3 separate regions of the Homo sapiens genome follow, and all the other regions are linked to region 2. Evidence: promoter capture Hi-C in human tissues and cell types (Jung and others, 2019). All regions are on one chromosome and are shown on one strand. The core of a region is centred on a gene start or on the middle of the fragment in contact, and the rest is flanking DNA. Distances in the headings are between cores, read along the strand shown.

Evidence for each region. The method cuts DNA at HindIII sites, captures the fragments that hold promoters and counts their contacts. A contact is called where the count stands out against the background at its distance.
Region 1: a contact is called between a fragment that was not itself captured here and the fragment with the promoter of CCDC7 in region 2, in 1 of the 25 tissues and cell types used here (H1 embryonic stem cells).
Region 3: a fragment that was not itself captured here is called in contact with the fragment with the promoter of CCDC7 in region 2 in 1 of the 25 tissues and cell types used here (hippocampus).

The regions. Positions count from the first base shown.
Region 1 is chr10:32,255,683-32,259,095 of GRCh38, reverse strand. No RefSeq gene overlaps it. Among named protein-coding and RNA genes, the nearest start is that of EPC1, 90 kb to the left of the region's middle. RefSeq lists a silencer at 2,239-2,358. The HindIII fragment of the contact is 4,191 bases long and covers 1-3,413 here.
Region 2 is chr10:32,444,843-32,448,118 of GRCh38, reverse strand. It overlaps CCDC7 (coiled-coil domain containing 7), which reads right to left and starts at 1,979. Exons shown (of 44, transcript NM_001395015.1): 1 at 1,722-1,979. LOC101929431 (a long non-coding RNA gene) reads left to right here and starts at 2,063. Exons shown (of 3, transcript NR_120660.1): 1 at 2,063-2,506. RefSeq lists a silencer at 1,809-2,038 and an enhancer at 2,109-2,428. The HindIII fragment of the contact is 7,178 bases long and covers 1-3,276 here.
Region 3 is chr10:32,281,585-32,284,976 of GRCh38, reverse strand. It overlaps EPC1 (enhancer of polycomb 1), which reads left to right. Exons shown (of 14, transcript NM_001272004.3): 10 at 1-279. Among named protein-coding and RNA genes, the nearest start is that of EPC1, 64 kb to the left of the region's middle. The HindIII fragment of the contact is 3,694 bases long and covers 1-3,392 here.

The sequences.
Region 1 (3,413 bases), core at 250-2,749, 190 kb after region 2:
CATAGCAGCATTATTCACAACAGCCAAAAGGTAGAAACAAAGTGCCCATCAACAAGGAAAATGTGGTGTATACATACAATGGAATATTATTCAGCTTTTAAAGCGGAGCTTGCAGTGAGCCGAGATCGCCCCACTACACTCCAGCCTGGGTGAAAGTTCGAGACTTCGTCTCAAAAAAAAAAAAAAAAAAAAAAACAGAAAACAAAAAACAAAAAAACAGGGAAATCCTGTCACATGCTACAACATGGATGAACCTTGAGGACATTATGCTAAGTGAAATAAAAGTCACAAAAAGACAAATGTGGTATGATTCCACATATTGAGGTATCTAAAGTACTCAAACTCATACAAATAAAAAGCAGAAAGATGGTCGCCAGGGACCAAGGGAGGAGGAAATAGGAAATTGTTATTTAATAGGTATAGTGATTCAGTTTTACAAGAGGAGGCCAGGCGCGGTGGCTCACACCTGTAATCCCAGCACTTTGGGAGACCAAAGTGGGCAGATCACCTGAGGTTGGGAGTTCGAGACCAGCCTGACCAATATGGTGGAACCCCGTCTCTACTAATAATACAAAAAATTAGCCAGGCACGGTAGCGGGCGCTTGTATTCCCAGATACTTGGGAGACTGAGGTGGGAGAATTGCTTGAACCCAGGAGGCAGAGGTTGCGCGGTGAGCCGAGTCACTGCACTCCAGCCTGGAGTTTTACAAGATGAAAAGAACTCCGGACATTGGTCGCACAACAATGTGAAGATACTTAGGACTACTGAACTGCACAGTTAAAAATAAAGAAAGGCTGGATGCGGTGGCTGGGGCCTGTAATTGAGTGCTTTGGGAGGCTGAGGCAGGAGGATTGCTTGAAGAGTTTGAGACCAGACTCTTGCAAGAAAGCAAGACCCTGTCTGTACAAAAAATAAAAAAATTAGCTGGGTGTAGTGTGCCTTGTAGTCCCAGCTACTCGGGAGGCTGGGGCAGGAGGATCACTTGAGTCCCAGAGTTCAAGGTACCACTGTATTCCAGCCTTGGTGACAGAGCGAGATCGTGTCTCTAAATAAATAAATATATAAATATATATATATATAAAAAGATGTAACTTTTATGCCATATATATTTTACCACAGTTAAAAATTTCTGGCTAGATGCGGTGGCTCACGCCTGTAATGCCAGCATTTTGGGAGGCCGAGGTGGGTGGATCACCTGAGGTCGGGAGTTTGAGACCAGCCTGACCAACACTGAGAAACCCCGTCTCTACTAAAAGTACAAAATTAGCTGGGCGTGGTGGTGCATGCATGCCTGTAATCCCAGCTACGTGGGAGGCTGAGGCAGGAGAACTGCTTGAACCTGGGAGGCAGAGGTTGTGGTGAGCTGAGATTGTGTCATTGCACTCCAGCCTGGGCAACAAGAGCGAAACTCCGTCTCAAAAAAAGAAAAAAAAGAGTATTATTTCTGTTCACTGTCTTTTTTTTTTTTTTTTTTTTTTGAGAGAAAGAATGGGTCTCACTCTGTCACCCAGTCAGGAGTGCAGTGCAGTGGCACGACACAACCACAGCTCACTGCAGCCTTGAACTCCCAGGCTCGAGTGATCCTCCCACCCTAGCCTCCCGCATAGGTGGGACTACAAGTGCACACCATTACGACTGGCTGATTTTTATTTTTTTTATTTTTTGTTGCCAGGACTGGTCTCGAACTGTTGGGCTCAGGCGATCCTCCTGCCCTGGCCTCCCCAAGTGCTAGGATTACAGGTGTGAACCGCCACACTGGGACTGTTCACTGTCTTCTTTTGGAGCAAGAGGCTTGGGGAGAGGGAAGTAAAAAGGATCACAGAGACCTGGTGGGGGAAGTGTCAAGCCTACAGTTCTGTGTTTGGACCTCTATAGGTCTGCTGCATTTTTCATAGCTGTCCTTTCTGCCCAGGACAGCTTGGACCAAACCCCCCTCCAGCAGAAGTCCCTGGGCCTGGTCCAAGCCTACACATCCCACATCTCCATGCAAACACACCTCTTTAAATATTAATGATAGAGAGACGGGCCAAAGTTAGTGGCTCTGGAATTCATTCTAATGTAGATAGAGAGATGGCCCAAAGTTAGTGGCTCTGAAATTCATTCTAATGTAATCAAAAGCAAAAAGAGCCAGATCTCTGAGACCATAGGTGGTAAACTGGCCGATAAAACATTCTACATTCTCGCTAAACATTTGGTAATTGCCTGCTAATTTGGCCACTTGATTAGTGATGGGGGAAGTCACTGGTGCCGCCTAGTGGCAATCTTTGGGAACGAGCGAAACCGCATAGCTGCCCAGAAATCGTGGACAATGAAAGGCCCAGTTAGGTGACAAAGTGCAAAAACAGAGTGTACCATTTTGCCTCCACTTGTGTTATCAAGAGGGATAGAGATTGGGAACAGGGCTACACATAGACTATCTCTAGAAACGTCACCATGTGATTGGAATGCTTTAAAGTGTTTTTAAGCAATAGATACAGTTTTTCCTTGTGTAAGGAGAGATGGATCACATGGCAAATGCTTACTGAGGCTGTGCCAGCCACTTTTGGACACTGTTTCTCAAAGTCTGGTCCTCCGACCACCCGCATAGGAATCACTTGACACGCTGATAAAAATGCATATCCTGGCCGGGTGCGGTGGCTCACGCCTGTAATCCCAGCATTTTGGGAGGCCGAGGTGGGAGGATCACTTGAGGTCAGGAGTTCGAGACCAGCCTGGCCAACATGGTGAAACCCCGTTTCTACTAAAAATACAAAATTAGCTGGGCGTGGTGGCTTGGGCCTGTAATCCCAGCTAGGAAGGCTGAGGTGGGAGAATCGCTTGAACCTGGGAGGAGGACGTTGCAGTGAGCTGAGACCATGCCACTGCACACCAGGCTGGGCAACAGAGTGGGATTCCATCTAAAAGAAAAAAAAAAAAAAACCTGGGCGCGGTGGCTCACACCTGTAATCCCAGCACTTTGGGAGGCCGAGGCAGGCGGATCACCTGAGGTCAGGAGACCAGCCTGGCCAACAAGGTGAAACCCCGTCTCTACTAAAAATAAAAAATTAGCCAAGTGTGGTGACATGCAACTGTGGGCCCAGCTACTCAGGAGGCTGAGGCAGGAGAATCGCTTGAGCCCAGGAGGTGGAGGTTGCAGTGAGCCAAGATGGCACCACTGCACTCTAGCCTGGGTGACAGAATGAGATGCTGTCTAAAAAAAAAAAAAAAAAGCATATCCCCTAACATCATGCAAACCCTACAGAATCCGTGTCTCTGGGAGTGAACATGCAAAACAAGCTCTCTAGGTGAATCTTATGAACAGTTTTTGAGAACCACTTGGATTCAAACAAGTGTAAGAAATTGAAGTGGGAGACTCGGCAACATAGAGAGACCCCCATCTCTACGAAAAATTAAAAATTAGCCCCACACATGT
Region 2 (3,276 bases), core at 730-3,229:
GTTAACACTATAGTTAACTGAATGCATAGTTGCCAAGCATAATTTTTAAATCATAATCAAATATGACTTTGCAAAAATAACTTGTCACTAAAAATCCATTTGAAGGAAGAACACAATGCTCTCTTGGAAATTACTGATGATAATAGTAAATAAACACATTATAGAACTTGAACCAAAGCCCCTGCAAAATATTCCCTTTTACATTTTTCGTTTTTTTGAGACAGAGTTTCGCTCTTGTCGCCCAGGCTGGAGTACAATGGCACAATCTTGCTCACTGCAAACTTTGCCTCCCAGGTTCAAGCGATTCTCCTGCCTCAGCCTCCCAAGTAGCTGGGATTACAGGTGCCCACTGCCACGTCCGGCTAATTTTTGTATTTTTAATAGTGACAGGGTTTCACCACGTTGGCCAAGCTGGTCTCGAACTTCTGACCTCAGGTGATCCTCCCACCTCAGCCTCCCAAAGTGCTGGGATTACACGCCTGAGCCACTGTGCGCCCTGCTCCCTTTTACATTTTTCTCATGCCGATTGTGACACGATGCTTTCAGTAAAAATTAATGATACAAGCAAAATGATGCAGAAACCAAGATTAAATTTACAAAATTGAAAAGCCTCAAAAGAATTCTGAATAAATTACATTGCCAAAGAAACTCCATCAAAACCTTCAGGTCCAAGCAAACATCAAAAATTCCATCAAAACCATCAGGACCAGGAAACAGGACGTAAGAAGAGTGGCCAATGAGCCAATAAGTAAAACCAAAAGGTTATATATACATAGAAAGCAAGGAAAAGAAAATATCACCAAGGACCGAGTGATGAACTACGTCAAATGCTGAGTCAAGTAAAATGAAGACTAAGCTGACACTGGATTTGGCAACATGGAGGTAGGTCATTTGTAACCTGAAGAACGGCAACAATTTCAGTAGAATGATCGAGGTAAATATCTGACTTACCGTTCAAAAGAGAGGAAGTAGGAACAATGAATTGAATATAAGCACTGTAGAGAAATTTTACTATAAAAGGGAGTAAAGAAATACAGTATTACTAGAAGAAAACATGGTCAAGAGGAAAGTTCGATGGAAAAAAGAACAAGTGTATATGCTGTTATGGATTGCATTGTGTCCTCTCTCCCCAAAAAAGTGTGAGGGAGGGAGGGAGGGAGGGAGGGAGGGAGGAAGGGAAGAGGGGAAGGAAGGAAGGGAGGGAGGGAGGGAGGCAGGCAGGCAGGCAGGCAGGCAACGCTCACTTGGTGCAAAAAAAAAGAACCTGACAAATGCTCCGATGAAGTTCACATAAATACAAAAATAGTCACACGCAATGAATACTCGTATTAGCAAGCAAATATTTAAGGACTTTACATATTTAATTCATTTATCCCTCCTAACAATGCTAGGAAGTGGATGTCAGCATTACTTCGCCCAAGTGCATCCGTCCCTTTCCGCCACCACGACAAATGTTTTCTGGTTTCATCCTTCAAGGATTAACTTACATTCATTTCAAATCCTTTAATGATAAAGTGTACAAAATAGAGGAGAGCGGCAGGGGTTGGCAGGGGACGTAGGGAAAGGATGATTTGCCTTCGATCCTACATCCTGCATAAAAAGCAGCACAACCGCCACGGAGGCAGCCAGGCAGCGGGAAAACTAAGTGCAAAGCCAGGACTCTCCCGAAACCCTCAGGTCCTGCTAAGGGAGCCGCTCCCGAGGCTCCCCGCCCTGTGTACCTGCTGAGACTGTGGGAAGTCGGGTGACTGGGCGGTTTGGCCTTGCTGGCTCTAAGGTGAAAAACTATTTGCCTGAGGAAGATGACAATTCCGAGCCTGCCAGACTTCCTTCGAGACGGAAGCCTGAAAACTCCTCAGACTCCAGCACCTCCCTTTTACAAACTGACGTTTGTGCTGAAAGAAAAGGCCCGGCCTCTGCGCCCCCGGGCGGCAGCAAAGACCGCCGGGCACCCGCCGCCGGCGCCGGATGGGGCCGTTGAAGCCACGTCCCAGGCGCCCGACGCCACGACGCCTTGGCGCCGCCGGCGTCGCTGACGCTGCGAGCGTGAGCTGCGCGCCGAGAGCGGAAGAGGAGACGCAGTTTGGCGGCTGTGGGGATTTGCCGGAAGGTTAATAATGTCCATGGGCACATCGGCCTCCTCCTTTCTTATTCTCTCCCAAGTGTAATTCCAGGACGCCCCCTGAGCGCAGATTCATCCAGGCATTTGGCCTAGAGGCCCGCGGAGGAGAAATAAAGTACAGGCCTGGTAGGACCTTTGAGAACCTGGGCTTCAGCTACAAAACCAGAGCCCCAGTCCTTCATCTGCTGTCTCCTCAAGCTCTTTTCAGTGTATTGTGGAGTTCATTACCACTCTAAGCTCGCACGGAAGTGTACACCAGCTTCGTGATCTTAAAAGCAAAACAAAATCAAATGGACTAGGAATTAACTTGAAGCAGAGTTGTGACACTTAAGTGGTTTCTTGCCATCAGTTTCCACGCACTGCTTTAAGATGCAATTTTACAAGGTAGAGTTTTTTAGATAATTTGACCTCAAGAAATATATTAATTTTGTCTTTAAGTTGAACGAAGTAAAATGTTTTTAATATTTTAAAATATTAATTGATACAATTTAACTGTTAATAATGCCTGTGTGTAAATGAAAGGAATAGGAAAGATGGAACTAAAACTAAAAACCAGGAGGTTTAAAGGAGACCTTAGATTTGACTTAGTAGATTTCAACTATTTTCTAAAACTCTGAAAATTCATTATATCTAATTATTTCTAATTTTCCAGTAAAATCTGAATGCCTCACAAGAGATTCCTGAAAATTTATCAGCTCCCAAGAGCTGGTGTAGGCTAGCTCCATCACACCACTAGGAGTTACCATTGGGGTTGCCTGGAAAGGGAAAACAACACATCTTCTGGTGTACCAGAAATGTTCTGTCTTCTGCTCTTTCTGGGTGTGTTCAAAAATTCATGAAGGCAGGCTGGGCGTGGTGGCTCGCACCTGTAATCCCAGCACTTTGGGAGCCTGAGGCAGTGCATCACTCGAGGTCAGGAGTTCGAGACTAGCCTGGCCAACATGGTGAAACCCCATCTCTACTAAAAATACAAAAATTAGCCGGGCGTGATGGCGGGTGCCTGTAATCCCAGCTACTTAGGAGGCTGAGGCAGGAGAATCACTTGAACCCAGGAGGTGGAGGTTGCAGTGAGCCGAGATTGTGCCATTGCGCTCCAGCCTGGGCAACAGAGCGAGACTCCATCTAAAAAAGAAAAAAAAAAAAAAACATGAAGG
Region 3 (3,392 bases), core at 433-2,932, 160 kb after region 2:
CACAACATTCTCCAGTCAATCAGTTTGCCAATACCTCAGAAACAAATACCTCGGACAAATCTTTCTCTAAAGACCTCAGTCAGATACTAGTCAATATCAAATCATGTAGATGGCGGCATTTTAGGCCTCGGACACCATCCCTACATGACAGTGACAATGATGAACTCTCCTGTAGAAAATTATATAGGAGTATAAACCGAACAGGAACAGCACAACCTGGGACCCAGACATGCAGTACCTCTACGCAAAGTAAAAGTAGCAGTGGTTCAGCACACTTTGGTATGTTGACTGTTAATGATGTACGTTTCTATAGAAATGTCAGGTCCAACCATTTCCCATTTGTTCGACTATGTGGTCTGTTACATTTATGGCTTAAAGTCCTTTTCTCTTAAACAGTTAAAAAAAAAATCTTGGTCTAAGTATTTATTTGAATCCTGTTGCTATAGGAGTTTGTATGTGTGTGTCTTCATTTAAACATACCTGCATACAAAGATGGTTTATTTCTATTTAATATGTGACATTTGTTTCCTGGATATAGTCCGTGAACCACAAGATTTATCATATTTTTCAATAATATGAGAAGAAAATGGGCCGTAAATTGTTAACCATTTTATGTTCAGATATTTCTCTAGTTTTTACCTAGTTTGCTTTAACATAGAGACCAGCAAGTGAATATATATGCATAACCTTATATGTTGACACAATAATTCAGAATAATTTGTTAAAGATAAACTAATTTTTCAGAGAAGAACATTTAAAGGGTTAATATTTTTGAAACGTTTTCAGATAATATCTATTTGATTATTGTGGCTTCTATTTGAAATGTGTCTAAAATAAATGCTGTTTATTTAAAATATTCCTATAATCTTAGCTGTCTGTTTTAAAGCATAAGTTTGTGTTATTTGAAGCCTATATATTGTAGAAATTCACCATTGAATTATGTTACTACTGATTTTTGTAAAGGTAATCTGAGGACTATGAAGATATTTATCATTCCCCTAATTCACCCTGTAGGGTTATAGTTAAGTTGCTTCATAAATATGAACATTTGCTCTGATTCTTAAAGACCTCCAGAAAATGTTCCGTAAACTAATTTACTTGGTGGTTAAAAAAAAGTACAGTTGACCCCTGAACAACATGAGGGTTAGGGGCACCCCCCAATTGCAGTCCAAAATTCATGTATAACTTTTGACTCCCCAAAAACTTGACTAATAGTCTGCTCCTGACCAGAATTACCAATAACATAAACAGTCCATTAGTCCATTAACATAAACAGTCCAAACATACATGTTTTGTATGTTATATGTATTCTGTACTTCATTCTTAAAATAAGCTAGGAAAAAGAACATGTTATTAAGAAATTTATAGAGCCAGGCATGGTGGCTCATGCCTGTAATCCCAGCACTTTGGGAGGCTAAAGTGGGCAGATTGCTTGAGCCCAGGAGTTCAGGACCAGCCTGGGCAACATGGTGAAACCTCATCTCTACAAAAAATGCAGAAATTCACTGGGTGTGGTGGTGAGCGCCTGTAGTCTCAGCTACTCAGGAGACTGAGGTGGTAGGAGCCCAGAAGGTCAAGGCTGCAGTGAGCCAAGATCATGCCACTGCATTCCAGGCTTCACAGCAAAGCAAAACCCTGTTTCAAAAAAAAAAGAAATTCATAAAGGAGAGAAAATACATTTACTAATCATTAAGTGTAAGTGGATCATCATAAAGGTCTTTATCCTTGTCATCTTCACATTGAGGGGGAGGAGGGGTTGGTCTTGTCATCTGAGAGGTGACAGAGGCAGAAGATAATTTACAAATAAGTAGACCCAGGCAGTTCAAACCCATGTTATTCAAGGGTCAGCTGTACTTCTATGAAATGGAAGTCTTTCAGCTCATGAGAAAAATAATCACAATTCAGAAATCAGCTGGAAGATAAAGCTATTTTAGGGACTAACAGCTTATTTATAATCCCATTAATGTTACTGTCTTTATCACCAAAAGCCAGTTTCTCTCTACTTTTATAGTCTTAAGAATCAAAATAAAGAACTTTTCAATAAAGACTTACTTATAGTGTTAGTATAGAGGTTTTAACAGTATAAACCTGTCATAGGTTACCCTGATAATTAAGCTTTCTAAGCTGTAAAAATTCTTTAAGACTTCTCAGAAAATAGGCATGTTCCATCAATCTCCATCTTCTCCACCCCTTAAATAGAGAAGTTGAAGTGTATAACTATCCTAAATATTTAAGGATTTTATAATGCTCTTTTTTTATGAAAAATGTTTTGCTATACTGCTTTAGGCATATTAATAACAGTTGTAAAAATTGTTTGATTTGTGTTTGCCCAAAGAACATTAAAAGATGAGCATTACCAAAAGCTTAGCTGAAAAGAAATCATTAGTAACCTTGTAATTTTTCTTCTTTATCATTTCTTTCCTCCATATATGCGATACAACTATTTATTTATTTATTTAAGACAGGATCTTTCTCTGTCACCCAGACTGGAGTATAGTGGCACAGTCATGGCTCACTGCAGCCTCAACTTCCCAGGCTCAGTGATCCCCCAACCTCAGCCTCCTGGGTAGCTAGGACTGCAGGCGTATGCCACCATGACTGGCTAATTTTTTGTAAGAGATAGGGTCTATGTTGCCCAGGCTAGTCTTGAACTCCTGGCCTCAAGTGATCCTCCTGCCTTGGCCTCCCAAAGTGCTAGGGTTACAGGGGTGAGCCACTGCACCCAGCCTCAATACTACTTTTTAAAAATGAGTTTATCTATTTTTTTTCCTGTTGTCTTAATTATTTTCAATTTCTCCTTAAATTTTGCTAGATCTTCTAATACTTAGAGGATAGATACCTACAGACTACTGTAGGGTAACACTGTTCATTTATATTTGTGAATATTCCAGAGACCTAAAGCTTTTCTCTGCATACTTTATAAAGTATATTACAATGCAGCCATATCATAAGTGCATTTCACTTAATCCAACTCCAGGCCCCTGAAGAAAAAAAAAACAAAATTTAGGCCAAGTGTGGTGGCTCATGCCTGTAATCCCAGTACTTTGGGAGGCCGAGGCGGGCAGATCACCTGAGGTCAGGAGTTCCACACTAGCCTGGCTAATATGGCGAAACCTGGTCTCTACTAAAAAATACAAAAATTAGCTGGGCATGATGGCAGGCGCCTGTAATCCCAGCTACTCAGGAAGCTGAGGCAGGGAGAATGGCTTGAACCTGGGAGTCAGAGGTTGCAGTGAGCCGAGATTGTGCCATTGCATTCCAGCCTGGGCGACAGAGTGAGACTCCATCTCAAAAAAAAAAAAGAGAAAATGTAGCAGCTCAAATGTTATACAGAATTCTAAATACAATTTACTGAAAGAATATATTCTCCAGAGTGAGCCTGGAGTAGGGGA